Regions from separate parts of the Homo sapiens genome. Here regions 2 and 3 are each linked to region 1. The links are contacts of gene promoters, found by promoter capture Hi-C in blood cells and fetal thymus (Javierre and others, 2016). All regions are on one chromosome and are shown on one strand. Each heading gives the region's core, a stretch centred on a gene start or on the middle of the fragment in contact. The rest is flanking DNA. Distances are from core to core; before and after follow the strand shown. Region 1 holds the start of ZNF683 (zinc finger protein 683). Region 2 overlaps CEP85 (centrosomal protein 85). Region 3 holds the start of SH3BGRL3 (SH3 domain binding glutamate rich protein like 3).

What was found. Contacts are between HindIII fragments. The CHiCAGO score rates a contact against its expected background, and 5 or more counts as called.
Region 2: a contact is called between a fragment that was not itself captured here and the fragment with the promoter of ZNF683 in region 1, in 3 of 17 cell types (naive B cells, M2 macrophages and total B cells). The highest score is 7.1, in naive B cells.
Region 3: a contact is called between a fragment that was not itself captured here and the fragment with the promoter of ZNF683 in region 1, in 12 of 17 cell types (naive B cells, non-activated CD4 T cells, M2 macrophages and 9 more). The highest score is 13.6, in naive B cells.

Annotation. Positions count from the first base shown.
Region 1 is chr1:26,371,121-26,374,878 of GRCh38, forward strand. ZNF683 (zinc finger protein 683) reads right to left here and starts at 1,630. Exons shown (of 6, transcript NM_001114759.3): 1 at 1,549-1,630. The HindIII fragment of the contact is 11,410 bases long and covers 1-3,758 here.
Region 2 is chr1:26,259,020-26,262,777 of GRCh38, forward strand. It overlaps CEP85 (centrosomal protein 85), which reads left to right. Exons shown (of 14, transcript NM_001319944.2): 7 at 598-783. Among named protein-coding and RNA genes, the nearest start is that of SH3BGRL3, 19 kb to the right of the region's middle. The HindIII fragment of the contact is 3,615 bases long and covers 1-3,601 here.
Region 3 is chr1:26,279,668-26,283,425 of GRCh38, forward strand. SH3BGRL3 (SH3 domain binding glutamate rich protein like 3) reads left to right here and starts at 419. Exons shown (of 3, transcript NM_031286.4): 1 at 419-536; 2 at 1,098-1,265; 3 at 1,391-1,855. The coding sequence starts at 489. The coding sequence ends at 1,456. UBXN11 (UBX domain protein 11) reads right to left here. Exons shown (of 15, transcript NM_001389556.1): 13 at 3,197-3,270; 14 at 2,982-3,122; 15 at 2,615-2,902. The coding sequence ends at 2,632. RefSeq lists enhancers at 1-827, 828-1,714 and silencers at 203-774, 251-700. The HindIII fragment of the contact is 3,655 bases long and covers 24-3,678 here.

The DNA.
Region 1 (3,758 bases), core at 380-2,879:
GACAGGAACAGGCAGAGACAAGAACAGGCAACATAGAAGGATATGGAATGAGACAGAGGACAGAGAAGGCAGCTGATCTCACAGAGATACAGCAAACACGTTTTCCTCCTCCAAGTCCCATCTCAGATCTCCTGACCCTGGAAAGTTCTATCCTCTAATCTAGAGGCCCCAAGAGGCAAAAGATAATTCAAGCACATGGCCAGGTGAAGTGGCTCACATCTGTAATCCCAGCACTTCAGGAGACCAAGGCAGACCCATCTCTTGAGCCCAGGAGTTTGAGATCAGCCTGGGCAACAAAGCAAGACCTCATCTCTACAAAAAATACAAAACTTAGCTGGGCATGGTGACTTGCACCTCTGGTCCCAGCTACTCAGGAGGCTGAGGCAGGAGGATCACTTGAGCCCAGGAATATAAGGCTGCAGTGAACTAGGATATTGCCACTGCACTCTAGCCTGGGTGACAGAGAAAGACCCTGTCTCTTTAAAAAAAAAAAAAATAGACATAGCAAAATGGGTGTAAGGCATGACTAGGCCAGGTGTGGTGGCTCACATCTGTAATCCCAGCACTTTGGGAGGCTGAGGTGGGCCAACTGCTTGAGCCCAGGAGTTCAAGACCAGCATGAGCAACATGGTGAAACACCATCTCTACAAAAAATACAAAAATTAGCCAGGCATGGTAGCGCATGCCTGTTGTTCCAGCTACTCAGGAGGCTGAGGTGGGAGGATCACTTGAGCCAGGGAGGTCGAGACTGCAGTGAGCTGAGATCATGCCACTGCACTCCAGCCTGGGTGACAGAGCGAGACCCTGTCTTAAAAAAAGTTAATAAATAAGGAAAAGACATGTCTAGATACAAAAAGGGAGACCTCATAGGCCAGAAAGTGGCTTTTTAGCCTGAGCAATGTCATTATTCTTGTGAGCATGAGAAGAGGCATCACCCCTGCGGCCTTACACAAATTCTGGTGTGCGTGAGTCTGGCCCAGGGTGCAAAAGCCCCAACCAGCCATCAATCTGCACCCCAGCCACGCCACCCTGGTGTCCCAGAATATACAGGGACATCTCAGGCTGTGCACCATGGGCTGGGGCATGTTCCTGGGGTTTCTCTGCCAGCTCAGCCCCTAGGGCTGTGACTCATCCTCCACATAACTGATCCCAACATGTTTGTGAGCATCTCAAGGACAGGGTCCTCTGTCTACTCATTTTGGTTTTCCATGTAGACATCTGTCAGGTTTTTTTGGACGCCCAGCCTCTGAAACTTTTCCCCTACATGAGTCTTGAGGGAGGCAAAAGGTACCTCCCATTATAAAAGCCGAAATGGCCAAATACTTAATTCCAACCTCCCTCACCAGCACTTCATGCAGGCATACATGGACTAGGTCGATCAGATGTCCCCACCCAGAAGGGGTGACCCGCACACCTTTGGCTTCCATCTGCCAGCTCTGCCCTCTCCTGGCATCACACTCTGCTCCCAACTCTCAGAACACCTTGCACAACTTCTCTGTTAGAAAAAAATAAAAACTACTTCCCCTCTATCCGCACTTCCCAACCTACTCTGGTGATCATGGGCTTTCCTTGGCTTGGGTCTCTGGTCTGGGTCAAGGCATCTGCTCAGGTTCCTCAGTTAGAAGACCATGGTCCTCCCTTTGTGCTACCTCCCCAGGGCATGTGGGACAAAGTGACATCACATTTAGGCCTGTGACATCACAGGGCATGGAGGCTGACAAGACAGATGATCTGGGAGACGAGAGCAAGGAAGGGCTTGGCAGGCAGAGGCTGCTCCATGTGGGAACCTGAGGGAGTCTGTCTTAGCCCACCTCCTGGGACATTTCCTTGCCAAGCCGAGTCTTGTGAGCATGAGAAGAGGCATAACCCCTGTGGCCTCACACAAATTCTGGTGTGCGTGAGTCTGGCCCAGGGTACAAAAGCCCCAAGCAGCCATTAATCTCCACTGCAGCCCAGTAGACTAGCAGATCAGAAGCTAGTGCCACTGGCTGAGCGCAGTGGCTCACGCCTGTAATCCCAGGACTTTGGGAGGCCGAGGCGGGCAGATCACTTGAGGTCAGGAGTTCAAGACCAGCCTGGCCAACATGGTGGGACCCCATCTCTACAAAAATACAAAAATTAGCCAAGTGTGGTGGCACGTGCCTGTATTTCCAGCTACTTGGGAGACTGAGGCAGGAGAATTGCTTGAACCCGGGAGGCGGAGGTTGCAGTGAGCTGAGATGGCTCTGCTACACTCCAGGCTGGGCAACAGAGTGAGGCTCCATCTCAAAATAAAATAAAATACAATAAAAAAAGCCACTGGTCCTGAGGTGGCAGGTCTGTGGAAACTCCTCTCTACAACAAAGGCTGTGGTACCACATCCGGCTTCCAGGGCAGTGAAGGAAAGAAGGGGGTTCAGGGGAGGCTGCAGAATCTGTGCAGGGCTGGTCCTGGGGTGTGATATTTGGCCATGGTCCTGTCTACTTCCAGCCTCCCTTGATCCATCCTATTCTCCAAGCCTTGCTCTCCAGCCTTCTCAGACCTCCTGCGAGCTTTTCTAACATCTTTTAAACAAATTCCTTCTGCTTAACTCCTCCTGAAATGGTTTTTGTAGCTTACAACTGATAATTCTGCATTATACATGCCCAGAATAGAAGATAAAGTAACAGGGTTCCAGCTGGAATTGTCCAAGGAACAGAGTAAATAGCCACCTTTACAAACAGCTTTCTTGCTGTGTCTGGCACTGTGCTAGGGGCTTCATAAACTTTATCTCATTTAGTCTTCACAATAAGCCTGTGTGGTGGATTTTATTATTAGCAGCTCATCCAGAGTCACACAACAAGTAGCCAAGAGCTCTTTAGTGGTAAACCTCAGACTCTGCCATCTCTTGGCCATGTCAGCTTCCCCCACTACGACAGCCACCCCCTCATTTCTTTCTTTCTTGCTCTCTCTTCCCACATGCTGTTCCCAGTCCTTCCCCCAACTCCTCAGTGGCCCCCTCAGTATCCTTCAGCGTAATGGAGGGGCTTAGTTCACCAAAACTCTACTCCCTAAAAGGAAGAGCCCTCTCAGACCCCCAGGCCACAAGCCCGCCTCCCCTGCTGTCTTGCTGGGAATCACAGGGAAGTGAGGGGCACCGAGTGAAGTTTCCTCCCCTCCAAGGCACTTCCCCACACACCTTTGGCTTCCATCTGCCAGCTGTGCTCCCTCCTGGCATCACACTCTGCTCCCAGCTCTCAGAACACTTTGCACAACCTCTCTGTTAGAAAAAAATAAAAAAGGAAATGGCCTTGGAGATTTCCAGGTCTCCAATCCTGAAAGCTCCCTGGCTTGGCTAGGAAATGCCCCAGGAGGTGGGCTGAGGACAGACTCCCTCAGGTTCCCACGTGGAGAAGCCTCTGCCTGCCAAGCCCTTCCTTGCTGTCATCTCCCAGATCATCTGTCTTGTGTCATCCATGCCCTGTGATGTCACAGGCCTAAATGTGATGTCACTTTGTCCCACATGCCCTGGGGAGGTAGCACAGAGGGAGGACCATGGTCTTCTAACTGAGGAACCTGAGCAGATGCCTTGACCCAGACCAGAGACCCAAGCCAAGGAAAGCCCATGATCACCAGAGTGGGTTTGGGAAGTGCGGACAGAGGGGGAGTAGGGAGCTGACTCCAGGTGCAAGGGGCACATTCGGGAGGCCTCTGAAGAGGAGGTGCCTCCACATTAGGGGACAAGAGCTGGAGGGGCTGGGTCCTTGGGCTCCCGGTGCTCACTGCACACTTTCTTCTTC
Region 2 (3,758 bases), core at 544-3,043, 110 kb before region 1:
GGGCATTTGAATGTTGGATATTTGACAGGTTATAGCACTGGCTTTGCTACCTAATTAAGGCAGTATCCTGTCTCATAGAATCAGAATGTTAAGAGTGGGAAGTGCCTTAAATAAAACTAGTTAATTCTTCGAATTTACTGATTAAAGAATTGAAACCTGAGAAAGAGGAAGACCTTGCCTGAGATCATATAGAGAATGAGTGGAGGGAAGCCAGGCTTTGAGCCCAGGTCTTCTGATGTCTTGTCCTAGGTTCCTTCCAGTATACAATGGCTTAGGTATTGCTTTAAGGCAGTGGTTCTCAAATGTGAGTGTGCATCAGAATCCCTGGAGCGCTTGTTAAAATACAGATTATTGGGACCCATCCCTACAGTTTCTGGTTTGGTGGGCCTAGGAGTTAGGCTTAAGACATTGCATTGCTAACAAATTACATCATCAGGTAATGCTGATGCTGTTAACCCTAAGACCTAGTTGAGAACCACTTCTTAAAGAGATTCTTGGAGAAAAATGATATTTGACCGTGAAGTATGCTGGGAATAAGTAAAGTACATGAGACTATAAGGGTAGAGAACAGTTACATATTGAGAATCTTTCTGGCAGGAATTGCAGCGAGAAAACACTTTCTTACGTGCACAGTTTGCACAGAAGACAGAAGCCTTGAGCAGAGAAAAGATTGACCTTGAAAAGAAACTCTCTGCTTCTGAAGTTGAAGTCCAGCTCATCAGAGAGTCGCTCAAAGTGGCGTTGCAGAAGCATTCTGAGGAAGTGAAGAAACAGGAAGAAAGGGTGAGCTGAGTAGCTGATAGCCCTAGTTCACAAAGGAGTTGGCAGTCAGCTGTCTACTCTAAAGCCTAAGCTGTTTCTGGCCTGGAACTAAGAGGAGACAATTGGGTGAGATCCTCCACTGGCTTCTCACACAGAATCGTCACAGATCTCCTTTTTGCTAGAAATGGAACTCTCCTCCCTCCCTCATTTTTGCTTCATCTCCACAAAACCACAACAGTCAGAGAAAGTTGTATGATCCCTCACTGTCCCAGGTTGTGCTGTGCAATGTACCACCAGCTGGTCTGGGTAGAAAACCAACCTGAGTACTCATACCAGGTGGCACTGTTGCAAAATACACCTGTGGTATATTTGTATCATTCAGTCTGGTTTCTCACCCTTCCTAAAAAGTAGAGAAAAATTCCATGTGCATCAGGCATGGTGGCTCACGCCTGTAATCCCAGCACTTTGGGAGGCTGAAACGGGTGGATCACCTGAGGTCCAGAGTTCGAGACCAGCCTGGCCAACATGGTGAAACCCCGTCTCTACTAAAAATGCAAAAATTAGCTGGGTGTGGTGGCTGGCGCCTGTAATCTCAGCTACTTGGGAGGCTGAAGCAGGAGAATAGCTTGAACCCGGGAGACAGAGGTTGCAGTGAACCAGGATCACGCCATCATGCCATTGCACTCCAGCCTAGGTGATAGAGCAAGACTCCGTCTCAGGAAAAAAAAAAAAAATTCCATGTGCACAGCTAGTTTGGGTGTGTATATTTGCCAGTACTCTTAGAATTGCCTTAGGTTTAAAGTTATTTGGTTTTGTTGGTATCTCCCAATTCACGGCTTGCTCTAAAGCATGTGTTTTTGGGGAACCAGTTTAGTAATGTTAAAGTTCTAGACCACTTAAAACAACTAGAGCAATACTTCTCAAACTTCATTGTTTCAGAATCACTTGGGGATCTTGTTAAAAATGTACATCAGATTCATAGTTCTAGGAGGAAGCCTGAGATCCTGCCTTTCTTTTTTTTTTTTTTGAGATGGAATTTCGCTCTGGCATCTGGGCTGGAGTGCAGTGGTGCAATCTCAGCTCACTGCAACCTCAGCCTCCTGGGTTCAAGCGATTCTCCTGCTTCAGCCTCCCAAGTAGTTGGGATTACAGGCGCCTGCTACCACACCCAGCTAATTTTTGTAATTTTAGTGGAGATGGGGTTTCACCATGTTGGCCAGGCTGGTCTCGAACTCCTGACCTCAGGTGATCCACCCACCTCAGCCTCCCAAAGTGCTGGGATTACAGATGTGACCCACTGCACCCAGCTGGATTCTGCATTTCTGACAAGCTCCCAGGTGATGCTGATGTTGTTGGTACTGGAAGGACTTAAGAGGGTTTGTTAAAAAAGAAAATTTAAAGTTGAGTTAGGCTGGGCGCCGTGGCTCATGCTTGTAATCCCTGCACTTTGGGAGGCTGAGGTGGGCAGATCACCTGAGGTCAGGGGTTCGAGACCAGCCTGACCAACATGGAGAAACCCTGTCTCTACTAAAAATACAAAATTAGCTGGGCGTGGTGGCACATGCCTATAATCCCAGCTACTCAGGAGGCTGAAGCAGGAGAATCACTTTAACCCAGGAGGCGGAAGTTGCAATGAGGCAAGATCGCTCCATTGCACCCCAGCCTAGGCAACAAGAGCGAAACTCCATCTCAAAAAAATAAAAGAAAGTTGGGTTAGTGAGTTTAAAAAAATAATAATTTATATATCTGTTAGGTAATTAAATACCAATAGATTTATAATAAAACTAGTAGTTCTAAAAACAAATGAAAAAATAAAAAATTTAGTAGTTCTGGCCAGACTCAGTGGCTCATACCTATAATTCCAGCACTTTGGGAGACTGTGGCAAGAGAATTGCTTGAGCTCAGGAGTTTAAGACAAGCCTGAACAACATAGTGAGACTCTCTTAAAAAAAAAAAAAAATTTTTTTTTTCCCTAAAATCAAGTTTATTACTCAGAGCAAAAGTTGCCCATATAATACGTTGCTCTTCAATTTTTATTTCTGCATGGTTATACAGTCTGAATGACTAGTTTACAATCCCAGGTGGTATTATAAGTTTTGCTTTTACTGGCCAGGCATGGTGGCTCACACCTGTAATCCCAGCATATGGGGAGGCCAAGGCAGGCGAATCACTTGAGGTCAGGAGTTCGAGACCAGTCTGGCCAACATGGTGAAACCCTCTCTGTACTAAAAAAAATACAAAAATGGCCAGGCACGATGGCTTACACCTGTAATCCCAACACTTTGGGAGGCTGAGGAGGGCAGATCACAAGGTCAGGAGATCAAGAACATCCTGGCCAACATGGTGAAACCCCATCTCTACTAAAAATACAAAAAATTAGCTGGGGGTGGTGGCGCACGCCTATAGTCCCAGCTACTTGGGAGGCTGAGGCAGGAGAATCACTTGAACACAGGAGGCGGAGGTTGCAGTGAGCCAAGATCACACCACTGCACTTCCAGCCTGGCAACAGAGCAAGACTCTGTCTCAAAAAAAAACAAAATGCAAAAATTAGCGGGGTATGGTGGTGGGCTCCTGTAACCTCAGCTACTTAAGAGGCTGGGGCAAGAGAGTTGCTTGAACCCAGGAGGTAGATGTTGCAGTGAGCCGAGATAGCACCACTGCTCTCTAATCTGGGCAACAGAGTGAGTGAGAGTCTGTCTCAAAAAAAACAAAACAAAACAAAAAAAGGCGGGGGGCGGGGGATGTGACTGTTGGAAGGGGAAAAGTCCTCGCTGACAAAGAAATGACACTAATGAAAATAAAATCAAGAATGATCCACTGGTACCACAGATGATAGAGAAGCTTGTCAGTGAGCAGTTCCCTACTTCTTGCAGCAAAGGGGAGCATGGGCTAAAAATATTTTAGAAAAATCAAACGGCACCTGCAACACACTCTTAAATAAAGGCCAAGCTTGCAAACTATTCCTCCTCATCCATGTTGCTCAAATGTGAAGGAAT
Region 3 (3,758 bases), core at 601-3,100, 91 kb before region 1:
AGCTCAAACCTTCCAAAGCCCCAAGCTTCCCTGTGCTATTAGAGCACCTCCTCCTGGAGAGAGCGGCTCTCGTGGCTGGGGAGTTGGATGCACCAAACCTGTGTGCGGCTGGAGAGGGAGGCTTCTGCCAGACCCTCTCCCGGGCCTGTCCTGCCACCCAGGCCCCTCCCCAGTCTCACACTGAGCTCCAGATCAGGGAAGGGCCGAAAAGGACGATCAGGGCAGCCGCAGAAGGGGCGCCCTGCGTGGGACGGGTCCGTTGCGCGCCTGGTAACCGAGGGGGAAGGGAAGGGGCCTCTGGCGTGCGGGGCGGTGTCGCGCAGGTCCCACCCCGCCTGCCCGCGCCGCCCATTGGTCCCGAGCGCGATGACTTGGCGGGCGGAGCAGGAAGGAAACCGCTCCCGAGCACGGCGGCGGCGTCGTCTCCCGGCAGTGCAGCTGCCGCTACCGCCGCCCTCTGCCCGCCGGCCCGTCTGTCTACCCCCAGCATGAGCGGCCTGCGCGTCTACAGCACGTCGGTCACCGGCTCCCGCGAAGTAAGTGCGCGCCCGGACTGGCGCTGGGGGAAAGCGCAGGGCTGTATCCCGGTGCTTTGGACCCTAGCGCCCGGGACCCACCCCCAGGACGGGGGCGGGGTGGGGGGAGTGCGTCGGCGAGGTGCTGGGCACGGTCTCCCGGACCCGGTCCCGAGGCCCCATCCTGAATGTCTTCATCGGGCATCCTGGGTCCTTTGCAGCCGCGGCATGAACTTCCCGTGCCCATCCCCCATCAACCCCACACCCATTCTCTGCACTCCCACTACCGGGCTGACCCTGACCACGACCGCAGCCTGCCCTCCCCTCCCCTCCCCACCCTGAGCCTGATCCCACTTCCCTTCACTCTGACCCCCTCCCCCGTGGCTGATAATCCCTCTCTTCATCCTGCACCACCTCAAGCCTGACTCATCCTCCCAACTCCTAGAGGCCAGAACCCTCCCCTAGTGTGGAGGGGAATGGGGGGACAAAAGCTCCTGGTCACAGCCTCTCTCACCCTGCCCAGCATTTCCCCCATAAATCCTCCAGCCTATCCACTAACCCCTACCCACCCTCTGTCCCCAGATCAAGTCCCAGCAGAGCGAGGTGACCCGAATCCTGGATGGGAAGCGCATCCAATACCAGCTAGTGGACATCTCCCAGGACAACGCCCTGAGGGATGAGATGCGAGCCTTGGCAGGCAACCCCAAGGCCACCCCACCCCAGATTGTCAACGGGGACCAGTACTGTGGGGTATGGGCTGGGGGACGGGGGGGTGGGGGGAGTGTTGGAAGAGGACTCTAGCCAGGGTCATATCTGCCACAAAGCACTTGGGCCCCCTGCATTCAGGTGACCACCCCTCGCCTCCCCTTCTCCAGGACTATGAGCTCTTCGTGGAGGCTGTGGAACAAAACACGCTGCAGGAGTTCCTGAAGCTGGCTTGAGTCAAGCCTGTCCAGAGTTCCCCTGCTGGACTCCATCACCACACTCCCCCCAGCCTTCACCTGGCCATGAAGGACCTTTTGACCAACTCCCTGTCATTCCTAACCTAACCTTAGAGTCCCTCCCCCAATGCAGGCCACTTCTCCTCCCTCCTCTCTAAATGTAGTCCCCTCTCCTCCATCTAAAGGCAACATTCCTTACCCATTAGTCTCAGAAATTGTCTTAAGCAACAGCCCCAAATGCTGGCTGCCCCCAGCCAAGCATTGGGGCCGCCATCCTGCCTGGCACTGGCTGATGGGCACCTCTGTTGGTTCCATCAGCCAGAGCTCTGCCAAAGGCCCCGCAGTCCCTCTCCCAGGAGGACCCTAGAGGCAATTAAATGATGTCCTGTTCCATTGGCACTGTGTCTGGTTGGTTGTGGCCTGGGCCTCCTGGGTCCCTGCCCTGGGCAAGGTTGGTAGTTGTGACTGTGCTGAGACTGCTCTGTGGGAAGGGTGGCTGAGCTGTTCTCTTGTGACTGTCACCTCTGTGTTTGTTAGTGCATGTGTTTGGATATGTCTGACACACAAATACCTGTATGGACCAGTGGTTTCTGGAGATGTCTGGGTGGGCCACCCTCCAGTTCACATGCATGTGTCCATATCATGCTTGTGCCTTGGTGTGTAGTGCACATCTCCATGCCTGTCAGTGAGTGTGGCCATCCCATGCGCCTGTGTTGGAGCACAATGGCTAAGAATGAGTGTATCATGGGAGGTGGGTACCCAGCTGCAGTTCTGCTAATTTGGGGGCATGGGTCTAGTGGCAAAATGGCTTTGTGCGGTGTTGAAGTGTCCCCACGAGTTGGTGGGTCTGTGCCTGTGCACAGGTATCTGCTGGCTGCACACATACACAGTGAGGCTCTGCTGTCCCAGCTGAGAATGTAAACCCAGCTGGGGCCAGCTCCTTCCCCCCACTGCATCCCTCCCTTCACAGGATCCACTTAGCCCTTCTTGGGAGAAAGAGGAACCTAGAAGACAAAGACCCAGCAGCCAGGCCCGCCAGCCGGGGCTCGAGTTACCAAGGGGCGGGTCGGCACCGCCCCCTCCCTGGCCCAGCTGGTCCCAGGCCTTTCCTACGTGCCTGGCGAGATGGCCCACCCAAGAGCCTGGCGGAGCAGCGGGTTGAGGGGGCGGGTGCTTTATTGGGGGCTGGGACTGGGTCCAGGACAGGGACTGGGGCCGGGACCGGGACCGGGACTGGGGCCGGGACCGGGACCGGGACTGGGGCCGGGACCGGGACCGGGACAGGGACCAGGACTGAATTTCAGGCTGGACTTCGGGGCTCGGCGTGCCCGCAGCAGCAGTGCTGCTTTGGGCACAAGGCCTGCAGCCTGCAGCGTGAGTGTATCGTCCTGGTAGAGGGTGGGCGGGAATGTGCTGAAGATCTCAAAGGCAGAGGCATCCATGACCCTGGGGACCAGGCAGAGCAGATCAGGCTGGGCAGTGGGACCAGAGCCCCTCTGTGGCCCTGGCCCTGCCCTGCACCCACCTGGCCTGCGCTAGCAGAGCTCGCACGTCCCCAATGGTGTTGTCAGGCTGCATCATCAGTAGGAAGGCCTGTTCCCCATTCTCAGACTTGATGCGCAGCATGGAGAGCGGGGGTGCCGGCGTGTTGGGTGACTCCTGGCTCCTGCACAGCCCAGAGGCCATCAGCACGCGGTGACCCAACGCCCCCAGGCCCTCACCTCCTCATCCCGCCCTCACCTCTCTCGCTCAGCGGCCAAGGTGGGCGTCTCCACCACAATCTCCTGGATCCGGGCAGGCAATGGGCAGCAGTTCTGGAAGGTATCAGTGGAGGGTGGACAGAGCCCTAGGCCCCATTTGAGTCATCCCCACAAACCTTAGAGGGACACTTCCTTGACCAGGGACAGATGAGACCAGTGAGCAAAGCGGGAGGGGGTGTTCTGTATAAACCAAGGCCAGAGGAGAGGCAATGGAAGGGGAAGAAGGTTCTGGGAGGCAGCCCCATGGTTCCCCCCAGGTAACCCCCCGTTTCAGTCTAATGGAGACAGAACCCCACACAGACGATGATCAGGCTGGAAGCCCACCCCAGCCTGGGGTCAGGGAAGGCTTCCCTCGGAAAATGACAACTGAGCTGTGACTGAAGGATGAATGGGAGTCCTTAGAAATGGAATGGATGCAGGGATATTCCAGACAGCATCAACAAAGATCCTGGGTTCAGGGAAAGCTTCCTAGAGGTGGCGACACATTTGGGCAACTGCCAGCATTATGTGTGGCTGAAGCTGGGGCTCAATTGGACTGGAAG